Regions from separate parts of the Homo sapiens genome. Here regions 1, 2, 3, 4, 5 and 6 are each linked to region 7. Evidence: promoter capture Hi-C in 16 types of primary human blood cells and fetal thymus (Javierre and others, 2016). All regions are on one chromosome and are shown on one strand. The core of a region is centred on a gene start or on the middle of the fragment in contact, and the rest is flanking DNA. Distances in the headings are between cores, read along the strand shown.

Region 1 (2,700 bases), core at 147-2,646, 600 kb before region 7:
TACTTGGAGAGAGGATGGAGAAACATCTGGGGGATTCTAGTTTAGCCACTGATCTTCCTTCAGCCAAAGATGACTTTGAAGAGGTATAGAAGCATCATCATTTGTCTTTTTATGTGTGTGTTTTATGTTGCTTTGCATTTGAAAAGAAAATCGTTTGTCATTGTATCATTCTATACATGAATTCATGGAAAGGTGCAGAATAATTCAAGAGGGTAGAACTCCTGTTTGAATAACTTGCAGAGTAACGTTTCCTTAAACTGTGGTGTTCATTGGTGTCACCTTAACAGCTTTTAAAAATCCAGGTAACTAGGATTTGCTTCTGCTGAATCAGACTCAGAATCTCTGGAGCTGGTATATGATTATACATCTTGTTTAAAAGTCACAGAAGTGTCTTGCTTTGTCAATTAATAAGGGAAAGAAATAAAGACATTGCAAATTATATTTGCTAGCCAGTCTTTTCAAATATAATCTGTGATAGACATTAAAGAAAATTCAGATATATTCCATGTCCATAAATTTTAAAAGCATTTACAATTACTTAAGTTCTGGTTTCCAACAATTAGAAAATGGGTCCACGGTTGGCCAGGCACAGTGGCTCACACCTGTAATCCCAGCACTTTGGGAGGCCGAGGCAGGCGGATCACAAGGTCAGGAGATCGAGACCATCCTGGCTAACACGGTGAAACCCTGTCTCTACTAAAAATACAAAAAATTAGCCAGGCGTGGTGGCGGGTGCCTGTAGTCCCAGCTACTCGGGAGGCTGAGGCAGGAGAATGGTGTGAACCTGGGAGGCGGAGCTTGCAGTGAGCCGAGATTGCACCACTGCCCTCCAGCCTGGGCAACAGAGCGAGAATTCGTCTCAAAAAAAAAAAAGAAAAAAAAGAAAAAGAAAATGGGTCCACAGTAACAGATCCACAAACTCTTACTAAAATCCCCAAATGCTGAAAACCAAAACAAATTTTGTAAGTTAATTTGGAAGTGAAACTTGAAATAAATTGGCATGGAGCTATTATGACATGAAGCTTTTTTATTCTACCTAGAGTGAATGTTTTAGTGACATAAAAATGGGTTTGATTACAGGATGCCATCTTCGCTCTGGAGTATTAGTATTATATAGTACAGTCATGCATTGCTTAACCCACTTATGCCAGAGGTTGCCATTTTTAAAATTTTTGCATGAGTGAAAAATCAGACCTTGGTGATGACCTTGAGCAGTAGGATATAAATAACTTCCACATGCCTAGTGTTCACTAGGCATAAGTGGGTTTTAATGACAGGGATATGTGCTGGGAAATGCATCATTAGACAACTTTGTCATTGTGTGAACATTGTAGAATGTCCTTACACAAACCTAGGTGGTATAGCCTACTATACTTCTAGGTTATATGGTATAACCTATTGCTCCTGGCTACAAACCTGCACAGCATGTTACTGTGCTGAATACTGTAGGCAATTATAACACAATGGTAAGTATTTCCCTATCTAAAAATAGAAAAGGTACAGTAGATAAACAAAATAAAAGATTAAAAATGTTCTACCTGTATAGCATACTTACCATGTAGCTTGCAGGACTGGAGGTTGCTCTGGGAGAGTCAGTGAGTGAGTGGTGAGAGAATGTGAAAGCCTAGGACGTTATTATACACTACAGTAGACTTTATAAACACTGTACACTTAGGCTATGTTACATTTGTTTAAATTTTCCTTTAATTTTTTTAAATCTTCCTTCTGCAATAATAAATTAACTTTAGCTTACTGTAACTCTTTGACTTTATAAGCTTTTACATTTATTTTAACTTTTGACTCTTTTGTAATAACACAAGTTAAGATGCAAACACATTGCACAGGTGCATTAAAAATTGTTTTTCTTCATATCCTTGTTCTATAAACTTTTTTCTGCTTTTAATTTTTTAAATTTATTATTTGTTTTTACTTTTTAAGGTTTTTTTTTTTTTTTTTTTGGCTAAAAACAAAGGCCTAAGCATGTACATTAGCCTAGGCCTACACAAGGTCAGAATAATCAATATCACTGTCTTCCTCCTCCACATATTGTCCCACTGGAAGGTATTCAGGAGCAATAACATATGGAGTTGTCATATCCTAAGAAAACAATGCCTTATTCTGCAATACCTCCTGAAGGACCTGCCTGAGGCTCCTTGATAATTAACTGTTTTTTAATAAGTAAAAGAGTACACTCTAAAATAGTGATAAAAAGTATCACTTTTATAATACTTGATAATGATAATAAGTGACTGTTACTGATTTATGTATTTACTATACATAGTAAATGTATTTACCGTACATAAACCAGTAACATAGTCATTTATTATCATTATCAAGTATTATGTACCCTACATAATTGTATGTGCTGTGCTTTTATATGATTGGCACCTTAGTAGGTTTATTTACACCAGCATCGCCACAAACATCTGAGTAATACATTGCACCATGAAGTTAGAACAGCTATAGCATCACTAGGTGACAGGAATTTTTTAGCTCCATTATAATCTTATGGGACCATGTCATATATGCAGTCCATTTTTAACCAAAATGTCATTATGTAGCATGTGACTGTATATGCATTATATTACCTTGCTAAAATCCAAAAGGGACAAAAAAATCTAAATTTTGAAACACATCTGGTCCCAAAGTTTTGACTAAGGGATCCTGGGCATGTGCAAACATCTACAAAGTACTTTTGCT
Region 2 (2,700 bases), core at 53-2,552, 640 kb before region 7:
AATAACAAAATGAAAATATTTCCATCTAATGACCTCGACTTTCTTTGTGAAGTTAGCTCTCTTAGGGCCTGTGGTGAGGGATGAAGCTTAAAGAGTGTCATAAGATTTAGTAACGTTACCATAGTGAACAAAAAATTGCCAGTCAATGTCACAGACTTAGTTGAGGCTGGAAATCATAAAGTCATTATAGCCAATAATTTCTTCTATGAATTATATTCAGCAATACTTAGGAGTTCTGGAGCAGGTTTTTTAAAATGGTTGGGTTGATTCCACTTTGGTGATTAGAGTTCCATGGAAAAGAATAACGAGGGGAGGAAAAGCTGGGTAGATTTTGTTGAAAAGAGTTTCAGGAAATGAAATGACAGCTAGGGAGGGGGGATCAAGGAAAATAGAAAACTATGCAGTGAGATCCTTGTCTTATGTCTGCTATTGAGTTCACTCCACTAAAGGATTCCAAAACACTAAATATATAGTTCAGAAAACTGAATATTCAGAAGAGTTTCCAAAAAAGAAAATTAGAAATACAGTATTTAATAGTTGATCTTAAACCTGATATCTTTCTCTCTTCTCTTCACTCCCTTCTGCTTTCCCTTCTTTCCTCCTACCTTTCCTTTTGTTCCTGTCTTGCTATTTCTTTCCTTTGGCCTTCTCTCATTATCTCCCTCTCTCACTTCCTTTTTTCCAAGAAGCATTTGTTGACTACTTTGATCATATTGAAGGAACTGATTTTATTTTTCACATGGTATACTTTGAACTTTAGATAACTGACTTTATTTATTTTAATAGGTTCTGGCTGATAGATTGTCGACAGATCCAGGAATCCGTTACTTTTGCATCACAAGTATACAGAGAAATTATCTGCGTACCTTATATGGCCAAATTTGTAGTGTTTGCCAAATCACATGACCCCATTGAAGCCAGGTTGAGGTGTTTCTGCATGACTGATGATAAAGTGGATAAGACCCTTGAACAACAAGAAAATTTTGCTGAGGTGGCCAGAAGCAGGGATGTGGAGGTACTGTACCAAAAATAATAATAATAATTTATGCCATGTTGTTATACCTGCATTAATAGATTACATTTCAAATATCATTTAATAAATAGAATAATTAAAAAGTGAAAGACAAGTTCGCATTTTGGTCAGTTAGAAGGTCAACATCCAAAATCTGCCATTTTTAGCCATTTTGGACCTATTCAATAGGAATGATCTGTGCATGTGAGAAGGTAAGATGATTCCTTTAAAGATTATTTGAGGAAAAATTATGAGTTATTGATAAACTCAAAGTATGTAAGTGACTGTAGTACTTTAGATGTTTTTAGCTTTCCTTGTTGTCCTTATTTTTTAATAGTAACTAAAACAGTCTGGGAAGTATATCTTTTTGCATAAATGTTGAAGCAGGGTGTCTAGTGCTTTTCTACATTACTTTTTCTTATTTCAGAATTTTCCATCAGTGTAGGTCTTTGGGTGTTGAAGTCCAGTAACCTGACTCATTGTGATGTCAAAAGTTACCCAAGCAGGCCAGGTGTGGTGGTTCACGCCTGTATTCCCAGCACTTTGGGAGGCCGAGGTGGGTGGATCATCTGAGGTCACCAGTTCGAGACCAACCTGGCCAACATGGCAAAACCCTATCTCTACTAAAAATACAAAATTAGCTGGGCGTGGTGGCAGATGCCTGTAATCCCAGCTACTCAGGAGGCAGAGGCAGGAGAATTGCTTGAACCCGGGAGGCGGAGGTTGCAGTGAGCCAAGATCGCACCACTGCACTCCAGCCTGGGCAACAGAGTGAGACTCCGTCTCAAAAAAAAAAAAAAATTACCCAAGCATAAGTTTAAATTTAGGATTTAAATGTATTTTGGGGTTGTGGAATAATGGGATACACTTTTTGGAATGAGAACATTAAATGTCACCATGCATTAAAGATTCCCATTACTAGTAAGAAGAAAGAGTGCTGGACATGCTGTGTCACAGATAGACAGAATGTCAGTTGTCAATTTAAAGATGGTTGTATGTGTATTATAAGAATTTGAAGTTCCAAGTAGTACTACCACTTCTTTGTGTAAACAACAAGTATAATTGCAGCTACTTTATTGTTATTTCTCTCTGTTTTCACTCAGGTGTTAGAAGGAAAACCCATCTACGTTGATTGTTTCGGCAACTTGGTACCATTAACTAAAAGTGGCCAGCATCATATATTCAGTTTTTTTGCCTTCAAAGAAAATAGACTTCCTCTATTTGTCAAGGTAATATATACATGGAATTTTGTGATGCATTTTTTTCAAGATCAAGGCAGAATTTGACTTCCTTTAGTAATAGAAAATTTTCGCTTTTCAGTCATCTTCAGAGTTTTCTTTTTAACCATATTTGTAACGTTTTACAGCCCTGGGAAACAAATCATTTTTATTTTTGAGGTTCAAAGTCAACCTGAATTTTTATAGACTATATTTAAGGATGAGAACAGGACAAATAATAGCCAACTCATTAATTAGGCACAGTGACCGGTATTTTCCAAATTTGAAGGAAAGCTTATTTATCTATTATAACTTTTAAATATTTATGCTTAGATTTAAAAATACACGTGAACTTCACAAGTGTGGAGATCAAAAGAGTTCTAAGTGGCAACTTTTTGTAATAAAATCTCTCAAAAGACCCAGCATCTCACTTAAGCTAGTAAATTATCTGCAATAGAGCTATAGACTTGA
Region 3 (2,700 bases), core at 76-2,575, 680 kb before region 7:
AAGAAATGATAAATGTTTGAGGTGATGGATATCCCAATTACCCTGATTTGATCATTATACTTATGTTTATATCAAAATATCACTTGTACCCCGTAAGTATGTACAACTGTGTATCCACAACAATTTAAAAATTTTAAAAATAGGAGCCATAAAAATGGCAATACAATAAATACTTGTAAAGTCATTTGACACCTTTTGAGGTAGAGCCAAGATCTTTTCTTTAAATATAGGTCCATCGATTAGAAATTAAATTGCCATTCTTGCACAAACAATATCAATACCTATTATATTATGTATATATATGCTATAATATGTATATTTATATGATATTTGTATGTTCTGTGTACTTTCCTTTTCTTTCTTTTTTTTTGAGACAGGATCTCACGCTGTTGCCCAGGCTGAAGTGTAGTGGTACTATCACGGTTCACTGCAGCTCAGGTGATCCTCCCATCTTAGCTTCCAGAGTAACAGGGACTACTCGGGAGTAGTAGGTGGGCAGGTGCCACCACTCCTGGCTAATTTTTGTATTGTTTTGTAGAGACGGGGTTTTGCCACGTTGTCCAGGCTCGTCTCAAACGATCCACCTGCCTTGGCCTCCCAAAATGCTAGGATTACAGTCCTGAGCCCCTGCTGTGTATTTTCTTAAAAAGACATACTTAGTGCAGAATCTTTTTAGACTTTTGACATGTTTTTTCAACCTGTTATAATTGTCTCAATTACATCTAATTGGGTATTACTTTCAGTGACTCACCTTTGTTAGGACTTCAAAAAACATCTACCCTAGTTTTTCTAGAAAAAAAACAGTATTTACATAATATTTAATTTAGTTATTAAAGTTATATTAATATGTATGATTGGTATAAGTATGTTTAGAAACAAAAACAAGTTTAGCTTGAACTCCACTGATGGAAGCTATGGATGAGGGCCTTAAAAGGTGGCATCATAACCAAGATCACTAAGTATGCTGTGGTGGCTTAGGGATTATGTGATATAAATGCAATTGGTGACCAGGAGGATTGGCTGAGTGAGGGTTGGCTAAGTGAAGATCAGTTAAACACACAGTTTCTTTTGCATAGAACAAATCAGATATTGACTACTATTTGTAAAGCAGAATGTTAAGAACTCCTACTTTATTTTCTACATTTTTCATATCGTGATTAACAATATAAATTCATTATTAAATCTCTCTTCCATCTATTATATACCATTTCTTTTGCCATATTATCCGATTTAATTATATCCCATTAAACTTGTACTTAGTGTCCTACTCATTTTAACTTTTAAAGTAGTTTCTAATCTTGACCATAGTATCTTGGATTCTGTAGCAGAAAGAGATGTCCATGATCATTTCACTATAGCCTTGTTCTCTATGTACGATTCAGAGGTAGTTGCATAAAACCATGTTTATGTTTAAATAATCAAGTTTTCAAAGGACATTTTGTTTAAAAGGAAAATATGTATTCATTTCTTGTTACATTATACATATGTAGGACTACTTATTTTCCATCCATTCAACAAATATTTAATGATGGCCTTCTAAAGGTCAAATACCTTCTCATGTATAAATGATATTATATTTACCACATTGCATATAGAGGCCATTTTTAATATCTATACAGAAAAATATCCATGACCAATATGATCACAGTGTATTACTTTTTCTGTTGCCACATATATTTGCTGATAATTCTGATAGCATTCAGTGACCAAACTGAAGTAAATTATTGTTTCCACTCTTACAAGTACAAAGAAAATATAGTCCCATTATCAGCACCTGAAAATAGAAACTGAGACTATCAGGCAATGAAACTTAATCATTTAAAAAGTATCTCCAGTAATTATTTTCAAACAGAGAATCATCTCCTTATTGAAATGTTTACTACGAAGGACAAATACTCTAAAACATTTCTGCAAAAATTAACTTTCTAATACAGTCTAATATAGTAGACATCCTTTCACATTTTTAAATATTCCCAAAAAGTTGAATAAAGGTCAGCCGCGGTAGCTCACATCTGTAATACCAGCACTTTGGGAGGCCGAGGTAGGTGGATCACCTGACGTCAAGTGTTCGAGACCAGCCAGGCCAACATGGTGAAGCCCCATCTCTACTACAAATACACAAATGAGCCAGGCGTGCTGGTGCACACCTGTAATCCCAGCTATTTGGGAGGCTGAGGCAGGAGAATGGCTTGAACCTGGAAGGCGGAGGTTGCAGTGAGCTGAGATCGTGCCATTGCACTCCAGCCTGGGCAACAAGAGTGAAACGACATCTCAAAAAAAAAAAAAAAAAAGTTGAATAAGATTTCATAGTAGGGTAGTCTCTATGTTATATTTTAAATGCAAATCATTTTCCTGCAATTTATATACTTTCCCTAATACAGGAAAATGAATCTCAAATTGAGCTGTGCAATAAACCCACCTAAGGAACCTTTAAAAAATACCCTGGTCCCCATTATAGCTGGGCCCGATCCCTATGGATTTTGATTTAATTGGTCTATGATGGGACCCAAGCAACAATATTTTTTAAATGTTTCTAATAATTGTAATATGTAGCTATAGTTGAATACCACTAATACAGAATATGGGCTATAATTTATTGGTGTTAAATTTCTAAATTAAAATTTATAATATTAAAATAATAATCAAATTGTATATTATAATAGTCTTTTTGAGTTTGTTCATTCAACAAATATTTATCAA
Region 4 (2,700 bases), core at 143-2,642, 620 kb before region 7:
ACTTTCAGAATCAAAAGAAACAGTGGATGATGAGGCAGACTTACTTCCAGATGACGTGAGTGAGGAAGTAGAGGAAATACCTGCTTCGGATGCTCAACTTAACTCCCAAATGGGGATTTCAGCCTCCACTGAAACACCTACAAAAGAAGCTGTTAGTGTAGGGACCAAGGACCTCCCCACCGTGCAAACGGGTGATATACCTCCTCTCTCTGGTGTAAAGCAGATATCCTGCCCCGACTCTTCTGAACCAGCTGTACAAGTCCAGTTAGATTTTTCCACACTCACCAGGTCTGTTTATTCAGATAGGGGTGATGATTCTCCCGATTCTTCCCCAGAAGAACAGAAATCAGTAATCGAGATTCCTACTGCACCCATGGAGAATGTGCCTTTTACTGAAAGCAAATCCAAAATTCCTGTAAGGACTATGCCCACTTCCACCCCAGCACCTCCATCTGCAGAGTATGAGAGTTCAGTTTCTGAAGATTTTCTATCCAGTGTAGATGAGGAAAATAAGGCGGATGAAGCAAAACCAAAGTCCAAACTCCCTGTCAAAGTACCCCTCCAAAGAGTTGAACAGCAGCTCTCAGATCTAGACACCTCTGTCCAGAAGACAGTGGCTCCTCAGGGACAGGACATGGCAAGCATCGCACCAGATAATAGAAGCAAATCTGAATCTGATGCTAGTTCTTTGGATTCAAAGACCAAATGCCCAGTAAAAACCCGAAGTTACACTGAGACAGAAACAGAGAGCAGAGAGAGGGCCGAGGAACTTGAGTTAGAATCAGAAGAAGGGGCCACAAGACCAAAGATACTTACATCCCGATTGCCAGTTAAGAGCAGAAGCACTACATCTTCCTGCAGGGGGGGCACGAGCCCCACAAAAGAAAGTAAGGAGCATTTCTTTGACCTTTACAGAAATTCCATAGAATTCTTTGAGGAGATTAGTGATGAGGCTTCCAAATTAGTGGATAGGCTGACACAGTCAGAGAGGGAGCAGGAAATAGTTTCAGACGATGAAAGTAGTAGTGCCCTGGAAGTATCAGTAATTGAAAATCTGCCACCTGTTGAGACCGAGCACTCAGTTCCTGAGGACATCTTTGACACAAGGCCCATTTGGGATGAGTCTATTGAGACTCTGATTGAACGCATCCCTGATGAAAATGGCCATGACCATGCTGAAGGTATTTGCCAGCCACCGGGATTCCCTGTGCTACGCATGTCATAAAATTGATATAGTTTTTTTGTATGTTTGTTTTATTTGATGATTTGTGTCTCATTTTCTTTAAGCTTTCTGTAGTGGCTAATGTGTTTGTGTAAGCCCTTTGTGTTTTGTGCTTTCTCTGTATACTCTTGTCTAAGAAAACAATCTCAAGATTGAGTAATGAGAATGCTTATGGAAAACATAAACATAATAACCGGGCAACAGTGATCTTGCCTTTTTTAGCCTCTGCACGTAATAAGGCCATGCGAGCTTTGAGTTTTGTTGTTCTGAAGTCCCAAGCTTAGACTCAAATTAAGCACTTTTGCACATAAATATATTGTATTTTGTTTCATAGTATGAAGACATTGCTTTTCTTCTTATCTTCGCATACTTTAAAATAATTTGTACTTACAATTTTGTAATCATTAGGAAGCCATTTGCTTGAGAAGATTTCACATAACATGAAATTCTAATTGTTGTGGATCTGTTTTTGATTCAGAAAGGTTGGATTTCAGATACCATTGGTAAATACTTTAAGCAAACAAACCTAAGGTAAAAATATGCTTTTCATTTATGTGGTAGATGAATGGAGAATGTACTCTCATTAGATGCAGCAGACAACAAAAACTCAAACTTTGCACAGTTTAAGTTGACTGTGAGGGGATGATGGCTCTTTGACTTATAAAAAAGGAAACCATAGATGGCTTTGAAAAGTAGCCTGTGTTCTTCCAATATCTCTACAATGAAGACTGTCATTCTTAAATTGAGGTTATACAAACTTTCCTATACCATGGTCTAAAATGCTGCCTATCAATCAGTGGGAGTTAAACATGAATGGGAAAATTATAGTTTATAGGAGTGAGTAGTATATAAGCTTAATAGCAAGAAGGCAGAAACTTTGCCCAAAAGACATATATGCATACAGATACAATATACACATAAAAATGCATATGCTTTTATCCTCGTTTCTCCAAGGTCACCAGGACCAAATGTTGTTTCTGGCCACACTAATCAGGATGGCCTGATCAGCTCATGATCAACATCTCTTGTGAATCTCTGATGTGATTCCTTTCAGACATGACCTGGAAATGATCTATCCCTCCACAAGCAATAATAGGAGGTCCTAGCCAATTGCTCTACTTCTGCATCCCATTTATGATTTCTCTGGTGTTTCATGAACAAGATGGTGGTCTTCTTGGTGGGCAGTATTCTCTCCAATAATTTAAAAGTCATAAGATTACTAGAAATCAGCAACTTATATAATTATGTCTAGAACTAGTCTTGATTAAAGAGATATGGAAGCAGATGGTTTTCATGATTCATATTAGATCTATTCCCCATTCCACCCCAGAAATCAGACACACAATATGATCTGAAATGTAGTATCTAGTTTGTGCTTTCAAATATTTGGAGAAGTGACTTCCTTTCTTTGAATGAATCAGTACTGTGGTTCCTCTCCTGTCATAGACAACCTTTGGCCATTCTGTTTTTGACCTTCT
Region 5 (2,700 bases), core at 190-2,689, 570 kb before region 7:
AATGTTTTTAACGCCACAACACACACCACTCCTTCATGTTTCTGAGCCTGCTCTGTACCTTGGACATTTTATATTTGGGAGCTTAAGATGATTTTTAAAAAAATCTCTTTCCAACCAATTCTTCTAGAACAAATCTAGTGAAGCAGATGCAACGCAAGGTGGAGACACTGGGAACTGGCTGGGCTGCCGGGTGAATTCCAGTACAGACCCAACACCACCACAGAAACTAGGAATTTCCCTAGAAGCATTTAGGAGAACTAGCTCTACTTTTCCAGGAGCTTAGTTTATTGATTCATCGCCTACTTTAGGTCAGGCAGTTTGCCAAGAGCTGTGGATACACAGATGATTGTGACATAGTTCCTACTCCTCAAGGAGAAATTAGAATGAGATTCAGACAAGTGAACTGTCAATGATGCAATTCTAGATAAGGGCTGTCATGGGATAAGGGGAACGTGGGGTGCTATGCTTCCCCAAAGGGAGTCAGAGGAAGTGTCTGCTGGAGGCATCAAAATTAGGGCTCTGTCTATGCTGGAACCTTAGCCCTAGTGGGGGCTTGTATTTCTCAGTTTTCCTTGCCTGCTAGGTGAAAATTTATTTAGCTAGGGCACAGTGCTTCTGGCCCTAATGAGGTACTTCTCTTTGTGGGCAATATTTTTGTGATTGATAAAATAAATGCATCTTCCTCAACTGACAGCAGGAAAATGTGAAGAGAGGTGACAGGGTGATGGGCCACAGAGAGGGAGAAATGAGTACATCTCTGTACGTACAAATGCTTTTTCATCTATATGTTGTTATCCATACAAAAATAGCAATCCACAAGACCCGTTGTAATAAAGGAATTACAGGGCATCAAAGAAAAGAGGGAGTTTTCCAGGCTTGTTTAAACATTGATGCTCATCTCTACCATTCAGGAAGAAAATCCATCAGGCTTTTCTTCTGTTTCTCAGTGGCTAATGGACTATATGAAACTCAATTTCTGTACAGCAAGTTGGCCATAAGATGTACTTAGCAGACAATTAACATCAGCAGCCAACAACTAGAGTTGGTTAAATATCTACCGGCCTGGGGCAATCCTCATGAGTGATATAAGTAATCTTAAAAGAAATCAGTTCCCACCTTCTTGGTTTATGTTTCTTAAAATGGGATCCAAGGATCAGCTGTATCAGAACCAAAGAGGGTACTTGTTACAAATACAGGTTCTAAGATCCCTCTTCCAGATCTTGATTCAGAATCTCTTTAGGTAGTAAACCCATACAAGAATTTTTTTTTTCCATCTCACTCTGTTGTCCAGGCTGGAGTGCAGTGGCCCAATCTCAGCTCACTGCAACCTTCGCTTCCTGGGTTCAAGTGATTCTCCTGTATCAGCCTCCTGAGTAGCTGGGATTACAGGCATGCGCCAACATGCTCAGCTAATTTTTGTATTTTTAGTAGAGATGGGGTTTTGACATTTTGGCCAGGCTGGTCTTGAACCTCTGACCTCAGGTGATCCACCCACCTCGGCCTCTCAAAGTCCTAGGATTACAGGTGTGAGCCACTGTTCCCGGACCTATATACGGATTTTTAAAAATAAATTTCTCAATGATTTTTATGCATGCCACAGTTTGGGGAACACTACTATGGCAGTTTACAATCTTAGAATGCAATCTGGAACAGGCACACATATAAAGCAAGAATGTACAGAGGGAAATATGAAAAACACATTTAATCCATGGTAATAAACGTAGATTGAAAGAGAAGAAATAATACTCATGACACTGCAGTCCCAGAAACCATTAAAACACAATTAGATTTTTCTTGCTAAAAAGCACCAACCACAGAGATGCTAATTGCTCACTAGTCCTAGATCCAGGAGCTTTAGATTAATTTTCTAGTGGGCTTACCTGGTTCTTGTACTACGTATATATTGCTAGGGGTAAGTTGAGGGACTATTTCAGAAGCACCAGTGGCACCTTGGCATAAATACACATTTCAGACCAGGGCAAATTTTACTCTACAATAACAGCCAGGTTCTGGGATGAGGAGGCATCCTGTCTCAACCAGGAAGAATTGCACAGATTTTATCAGTAGTTTTACAGGGAATTTTCTCAATTGTCCAGACCCGGGTTAATGGACTTGCAGATTTAGAATCCCACCTCTCCTTGGCCACTATTCATCTCATCACTGATGCTGATGTTTCTCTTCTTCACAGACCCCTCTTCCCTGGGTTTAAGGACTATATATTCCTAGAAGTCCCTGCTAAACAAGTAACTGCAGGTTATAATCCACAGTGGCTAAAGCTAATCTGATGAATGAGATAATTGAAAGACAAAAAAACAGAAGGCTCAAAAGTCTGCATCAAGTTCTTAGATATTCACATTGCACAGAAAAAAAGAGAGAAATGATGGGGAAAGGGTAAAAAAAAGGAGAGGAGAGAGTTAATTATGCAAATATGAAAAGAAAGCAGATGGTGGGACTGGAAGCCTCAGGTGGCAGTGTCATTTTTAAAAGGTCAAACTTGGAAAGGCAGATATTGTAACCAGTGATTCAGAATCACATTGCCTCTTTTCCTTCTTGTTTATGGGTTGAAATGTGTCCCTCCAAACCAGAATAAAATCCTAACCCCCAGAAACTGTGAATGTGATCTTATTTGGAAATAAGGTCTTTGCCAGTGATCAAATTAAGATGAGGTCATTAGGGTGGGCGTTAATCTGACTGGTATCC
Region 6 (2,700 bases), core at 108-2,607, 710 kb before region 7:
GAACCGTTCTGTCTCACTGGCGTTCCAGGCGCCACGGTGGTATGAAAAAAAACTCCTGTAGCTAGCTCAATGTCTGCCCAAATGGCATCCCAGTTTTGTGCTTGAAACCCAGGGCCCTGGTGATGTAGGCACCCGAGGGAACCTCCTGGTCTGCAGGTTGCAAAGACCATGGGAAATGCGTAGTATCTGGGCCAGAGTGCACCATTCCTCATGGCACGGTCCCTCACGGCTTCCCTTGCCTAGGGGAGGGAGTTCCCTGACCCCTTGTGCTTTCCAGGTGAAGTGAAGCCCCACCCTGCTTTGGCTTGCCCTCCATGGGCTGCACCCACTGTCTAACCAATCCCAGTGAGATGAGCCAGATACCTCAGTTGGAAATGCATAAATCACCTGCCATCTGTGTTGATCTCGCTGGGATCTGCAGATGGGAGCTGTTCCTATTCAGCCATCTTGCCAGCCTCCGGCCACTTCCAAGTCTTTATCAGTAAAATATGAGGGTTGGACTCAGAAACTCAAAACTCCTTTCTAGACTTTCTTAACATTCTTTGATTCAATGAATTTAATAGACATTTTCTTGTAACAGGTTCCACAGATCTTCATGCAGAATCCAGTGATACACGGGTAGCCTTAACATTACTCTTGTTGTCTTGGTTTTCATCTGCCTTTCTGTGCATTGTCCACATAGTGTAATTTATGTTCTTTGGTAATCATCATTGATCTATTATATTCTTATCTATTTAAAGCTTTATTCAACCATGAGCTTCCCCTGCCATAACATTTTTCTGGTTTCCTTTTAAGGTTACCTGGCATTCAGCTATTTGAAAAATATTTTCTATGGTCAACCAGTGCACTCTGACTATCGTATACTTTACTGGAAATTGTGTTGATGTTCCTGTAAATTTTTTGTAATTCGTATTTAATAATGAAAGAGTTTCCCATTTCTGTCTTAAAGTAAAACCCCTTAATGTTTATTATTCAAATTAAAATTTCTACTTTTAATGGAAATTTATTCATTTTCATGTGTCTCTGCCAAATTTTTCTGTATTGATATAACCCATTATTACAACCTTTTATCTTTTTGGATACCCTCTGAAGCCTCTTCCTTAAAAGCACCACTGGCAACAGAGTCTTTCCTTTAAAATATTAATTAATTAGTTAATTTTACACAAAGATTTCATCAATTCTACTTTTTTACTTCTCTTTTGCAACTACATTTAGTATCATTAATACATATATAGCTACCTCTTAATTCCTTATTCCTTCTAATTTAAATATCAAATTTCAGATGTTATCTTTTGTTTATTTTTTTTCTTTTCAGCTCTACCTCCCATTCTAAGCTACAACTGAAATCCCTTCCCTATAGCATTTTCTATTGTGAACAAACAAAAATACTGTAGCCTTGTGAAGCAGTGCTCCCTAAAGGTCAATATGCATACAAATTACCTGGGCACCCTGCTAGAATGCATATTGTAAGTCAGTTCTGCATATTTAACAAACTCTCAGGTGATGTCAGGGCTGCTGATTTTGGGATTATGTTTCAAGCAGCAAGAAGTTAGGGTTTTCCTATTCATAAGTCCTATTTTAAAGCGTACTTTCACCATGTGTGTTTTATTGTCATTTAATCCTTTTAATGTGTTCCTGGGCCTCTGATTTAGTTAACATTTGAACAGTGCTTTAGAATTCATCAAGCATTTAAACACAAAGTGTCTTATTTGATACCCAGAGGATTCCTGTGTTGTAGGGTGGCTTAGCGTCCTGAAATTCAAGATTGTGCTGATTAACCTGTGGTGACAGAGTTAAGATAAGAAAAAGATTTCTCCTCTGATTCCGCATCTTTCTCCTAACTCTTTCTGCTAACGTCATTATCTCCCACTTCAAATGTAAAGAGAGCCCCTCTTCCTCCCATCCGAACAAACCACTGGTTTCTAATTAGTCACATTCTTTCCCTGAGCTTATGACTATGATCAGGATAAAAGATCAAGCTTGGGCTCATGCGCATTCATGCGGCCCATTTATGAGGTGGGATAAGAAGACCAGCAGCCCTTCTAGAACCACATGGAATATGGGATGTCCGTTTCCCCCAAATGAGGGATGGCTGTCCCAGAAGAAGGGTGCAGGGGGTATTGGGCAGAAAAATGAGCACATATCTGCTATTTTACCTCTTGATTTCTCACCGCACGCATGCGTGCACATGCACGCACAGACACACACACACACACACACACACTTTTGGAAACTTCCTCTCTAAACCTAATAACATTGCTCGAGAATTCACCCTCTCCCGAAGAAGAGATAGTAAAAAATTGTGCCAAGCTACTACATTGAGCTCCAAGGTTGAGATTGCTGCGTAGTTCACAATCTTCTCAATCAGGTTTAGAAATAATATCTCATGGGTCTAAGTCATATGTTTTGCCTATTCACAATATATAACAAAAGAAAAACCATATACTCATAATAACATCTGTAATTTTTAAAGTTCACGCAGAACACTCTATTCACCAGTCCAGAGCATAAGACACATTTTGCTGGACAGACTGGAGAGCAGGGGACCACAGTGGCCTCAGTTCCTCTGTCAGCCAATGTGTTTGCACCCAGGTCCTGCTCGCAGGAAGGTCCTTCCTTGTCCAGTGTCCTCAGTGGACATTACTGAGAAGGCCACCAGAGCCTGACCATCTGGGAGCTCTCTTGCTTTAGGAGCTGGTT
Region 7 (2,700 bases), core at 89-2,588:
ATTCATTCATTCTTCATTCATTCAGTTGTTCCCCATACTTTCTGTTACTCCCTTAAATTTGGAGCTGGATCTTCATTAAATGCTTAAGATTTCTCCAAGGAATAAATATAAGAAGTAGGAACACTTACTTTCCAGTAATAAACTGACTCCTGGATGGTGTGCAAATAGGCTGGACATAGTAGTTCTCCAGTTTAACTCCTTCGGCAGCGAGCTTGTCAAGAGTAGGTGTTTTAATCTCAGATCCGTGGTAACCCACATCTCTAAATCCCTGATCATCCGCTAGGATGAAAATGAGATGGGGCTGGGAGGTGGAAGTTGTGCTGGGCTCTAGTTTCTCTCCAGCTTGAGCTAGTAAGGCCCCTTCTTCCTCCTCTTCTAAGGCCTGGCCCCAGGACAGGTAACCATAAGTGAGGAGGCAGAGGATCCAGAATCCTGCCAGCGCCCCCATTGCTAGCATCTTTCCAGGACAGACACAGGCCTGTGGAGAAGGCGGAGGCGGATGCCCCGCACAGCCCCTGGGAGCCATTCACTCAGGTCCCAGGTGAGACTCCACGCGGAGAACCACGCGCCCCGCGCCGCTGCGGGCGCACACATGCACCCAACAGACGGTGAAGACTCTCCACCTGGCAAGAAATCCTCCTCTCCTCTCAGCTGTCACCATGTCCGACAACTTTAATCTTCCAGAAGTGATGGCTTAATGGATGGGACTCCGGAAGAACAAGGAGGGCTCGCTCTTCTCCAGCACATTTCACTTTCTCCTCCTCCTCCCCCCTCCCTAGAGCAGCTTCCACCAAGGAAAAAAAAAAGAAAAAAGTTAATATCTCCACCCAAAAGTTCTCTGGAGAAAAAAACCAAGCAAGGAATTGAGAATCACAGTGGACAGGAACTTTTCGTGGCCAGAGCGCCCTCGACGTTGGGGAGCGAGGCTGACTCTCCTGGGAGTGCTGGTACGGAGGGCGGCGGGATCGGCCGTCTGTCCTGCGGTCCCCACACCTGGAAAGAACTGCGAAGTGGACGCGTCGCGTCTGGCTCTGATCAGACAGATAAACTGCCGTAGTGGACCGGCCTCCTGATCACCTTCTCCACTTTCCCAGGGCTATTTTCCCCAGTCCTTTCCTAGGCGTTTGCCAATCTCCCCGACACTCACCAGGCGGCGAAGTGAGGAAGAAGCCGTTTCCTGATCTCCCTCCACCTCCGCAGAAACTCCGGGCAGCAATTCCTTTTCCCCGCTGCTAGGGAGCCTGAAGGCCAAAGCCGGGTCCCTAGCCCCGCGGCCGGTCCGCGCGGAGCCCGCTTGGTCTTTGCGTAGTTGGCGCACCCGGCGCAGGCGCTGCAAACTGCGTGCGTTTTCTCAGCTAACTTATTTAGCTTTGGCACTCCGAGTTCTTTTGCCTCCTCCCTCTTTTCTCTCCAGTGAATCACAGAACGGTACTTTCTTCCTGAGCTCCCCCGGGAAGAGGGGGTGGGGGAAAAGGACTGTTTAGAGGCTCGATCTTTCCTTTTTCTTTTCCGGGAGGTGGATGGCCAAGGCAGAGGAGGCTTTGCCAGAGAGAGAGCTGCGTGCTGCTCCAGCCCAGCGGGATTCCGGGGGATCCGCCTGGGCTACCGCGTCCCAAGAGTGTCGCCTCCTGCCCATCACCCCGCTAGAGGGAAAGGACGGCGGCGCGAATGGGGAAGGGTAAAGCGGGCACTTCTTTTCGTGGGGCTGTTGGTGAAGAGCCCCGTCTCCCATCCCTAAAGTTGCGCTTGCAAACTTTTTCTAGCTTCTGGAGGGAGTGAGAGAGAAGGAGCAGGAATAAAAACAAAATGCGTATGACACTCTTTCCTCTTTCCAACTTCCTTTGCAGGTTTTCCTTTACTAGTCCCCCCACCCCCATCATTTTCCTATTCCTTTTGTCCCTACCTTTTTTTTTTTTTTTTTCAGTAACGATGACAAATTTTTAAGTTTTATTTCCTCTCCCAATAGCTGGCTTTTACAGCCTGATTCTTCGTTACCCTTTCCCTATGTGAAAATACTGGAATTGCCCGCTCCCTCTTACCTCTCCCCTAACTTACCCACAGGGTGTCTCCAGCCAAAAGCCTGGAGAGGAAGAGTTATGCATTTCTCCTTCAAGAACCCCGAAGCCAGTCTGCATTCCTGCATTAAAGAAGCCAGTGTTTCCCATCCAGTAATTCAGGGAGCTTCATCATTTTTTTTCCTTCTTTCTTTTTTACCATGTGGAGGAAAACCATTGTAAAAACTTATCTTGGTTGTGAAAATACTCTTGATTTTACTAGAGTCATAGAGTTTTAAAGTCCTGCTCAAAGGCAGCAGAGGGATGTATAGTATAGTCTCTATAGAAGAGGCAATGAATGCCAAGAGCCACTGAGATATTTTTTTCTACCACCAAATTTATTCAACAGTTACTTACTGAATACCTACTGTGGGCTGGCACATAACATGTCAGATTCTCTCAATTGACTGAAACATAAATCTAGGTTTCATTTAGCCATTTATTTCTAATTCTCTCCTGTTGCTAAAGTTCCTGCTGAGTTCCCAGGCAAAACTTTGTGAAATGGGAACTTTGAAAGGCACGATGGTGCTCCATGAAGTTAACCTTGCTAGCTGCTGTAGGCCTTCTGGTCTCTGTTCTTCCTTGCAGCCCTTCTGGCTAAGCTGGGGAGAGATAGTCAGTTTTAGAAGCCATGTTCAGAAATGTG

The links. Contacts are between HindIII fragments. The CHiCAGO score rates a contact against its expected background, and 5 or more counts as called.
Region 1: a contact is called between a fragment that was not itself captured here and the fragment with the promoter of ARSJ in region 7, in 2 of 17 cell types (M2 macrophages and M0 macrophages). The highest score is 5.4, in M2 macrophages.
Region 2: a contact is called between a fragment that was not itself captured here and the fragment with the promoter of ARSJ in region 7, in 1 of 17 cell types (M2 macrophages). The highest score is 5.1, in M2 macrophages.
Region 3: a fragment that was not itself captured here is called in contact with the fragment with the promoter of ARSJ in region 7 in 1 of 17 cell types (M2 macrophages); the score reaches 5.5 in M2 macrophages.
Region 4: a contact is called between a fragment that was not itself captured here and the fragment with the promoter of ARSJ in region 7, in 1 of 17 cell types (M1 macrophages). The highest score is 5.8, in M1 macrophages.
Region 5: a fragment that was not itself captured here is called in contact with the fragment with the promoter of ARSJ in region 7 in 4 of 17 cell types (activated CD4 T cells, naive B cells, total B cells and 1 more); the score reaches 7.1 in activated CD4 T cells.
Region 6: a fragment that was not itself captured here is called in contact with the fragment with the promoter of ARSJ in region 7 in 1 of 17 cell types (M2 macrophages); the score reaches 5.7 in M2 macrophages.

Annotation. Positions count from the first base shown.
Region 1 is chr4:113,374,864-113,377,563 of GRCh38, forward strand. The region is part of intron 45 of ANK2 (ankyrin 2); the gene reads left to right. Among named protein-coding and RNA genes, the nearest start is that of MIR8082, 220 kb to the left of the region's middle. The HindIII fragment of the contact is 753 bases long and covers 1,021-1,773 here.
Region 2 is chr4:113,340,902-113,343,601 of GRCh38, forward strand. ANK2 (ankyrin 2) reads left to right here. Exons shown (of 46, transcript NM_001148.6): 33 at 787-1,015; 34 at 2,116-2,241. Among named protein-coding and RNA genes, the nearest start is that of MIR8082, 190 kb to the left of the region's middle. The HindIII fragment of the contact is 2,437 bases long and covers 85-2,521 here.
Region 3 is chr4:113,297,433-113,300,132 of GRCh38, forward strand. The region is part of intron 22 of ANK2 (ankyrin 2); the gene reads left to right. Among named protein-coding and RNA genes, the nearest start is that of MIR8082, 150 kb to the left of the region's middle. The HindIII fragment of the contact is 5,350 bases long and covers 1-2,700 here.
Region 4 is chr4:113,358,119-113,360,818 of GRCh38, forward strand. It overlaps ANK2 (ankyrin 2), which reads left to right. Exons shown (of 46, transcript NM_001148.6): 38 at 1-1,181. Among named protein-coding and RNA genes, the nearest start is that of MIR8082, 210 kb to the left of the region's middle. The HindIII fragment of the contact is 214 bases long and covers 1,286-1,499 here.
Region 5 is chr4:113,411,392-113,414,091 of GRCh38, forward strand. All of the region lies in intron 2 of LOC105377374 (a long non-coding RNA gene), which reads right to left. Among named protein-coding and RNA genes, the nearest start is that of MIR8082, 260 kb to the left of the region's middle. The HindIII fragment of the contact is 3,805 bases long and covers 1-2,700 here.
Region 6 is chr4:113,269,280-113,271,979 of GRCh38, forward strand. All of the region lies in intron 14 of ANK2 (ankyrin 2), which reads left to right. Among named protein-coding and RNA genes, the nearest start is that of MIR8082, 120 kb to the left of the region's middle. The HindIII fragment of the contact is 1,239 bases long and covers 739-1,977 here.
Region 7 is chr4:113,978,309-113,981,008 of GRCh38, forward strand. It overlaps ARSJ (arylsulfatase family member J), which reads right to left and starts at 1,339. Exons shown (of 2, transcript NM_024590.4): 1 at 129-1,339. The coding sequence starts at 526. LOC107986305 (a long non-coding RNA gene) reads left to right here and starts at 1,505. Exons shown (of 2, transcript XR_001741794.2): 1 at 1,505-1,678; 2 at 2,062-2,700. It overlaps LOC124900762 (a long non-coding RNA gene), which reads right to left. Exons shown (of 3, transcript XR_007058237.1): 3 at 2,587-2,656. The HindIII fragment of the contact is 10,512 bases long and covers 1-2,700 here.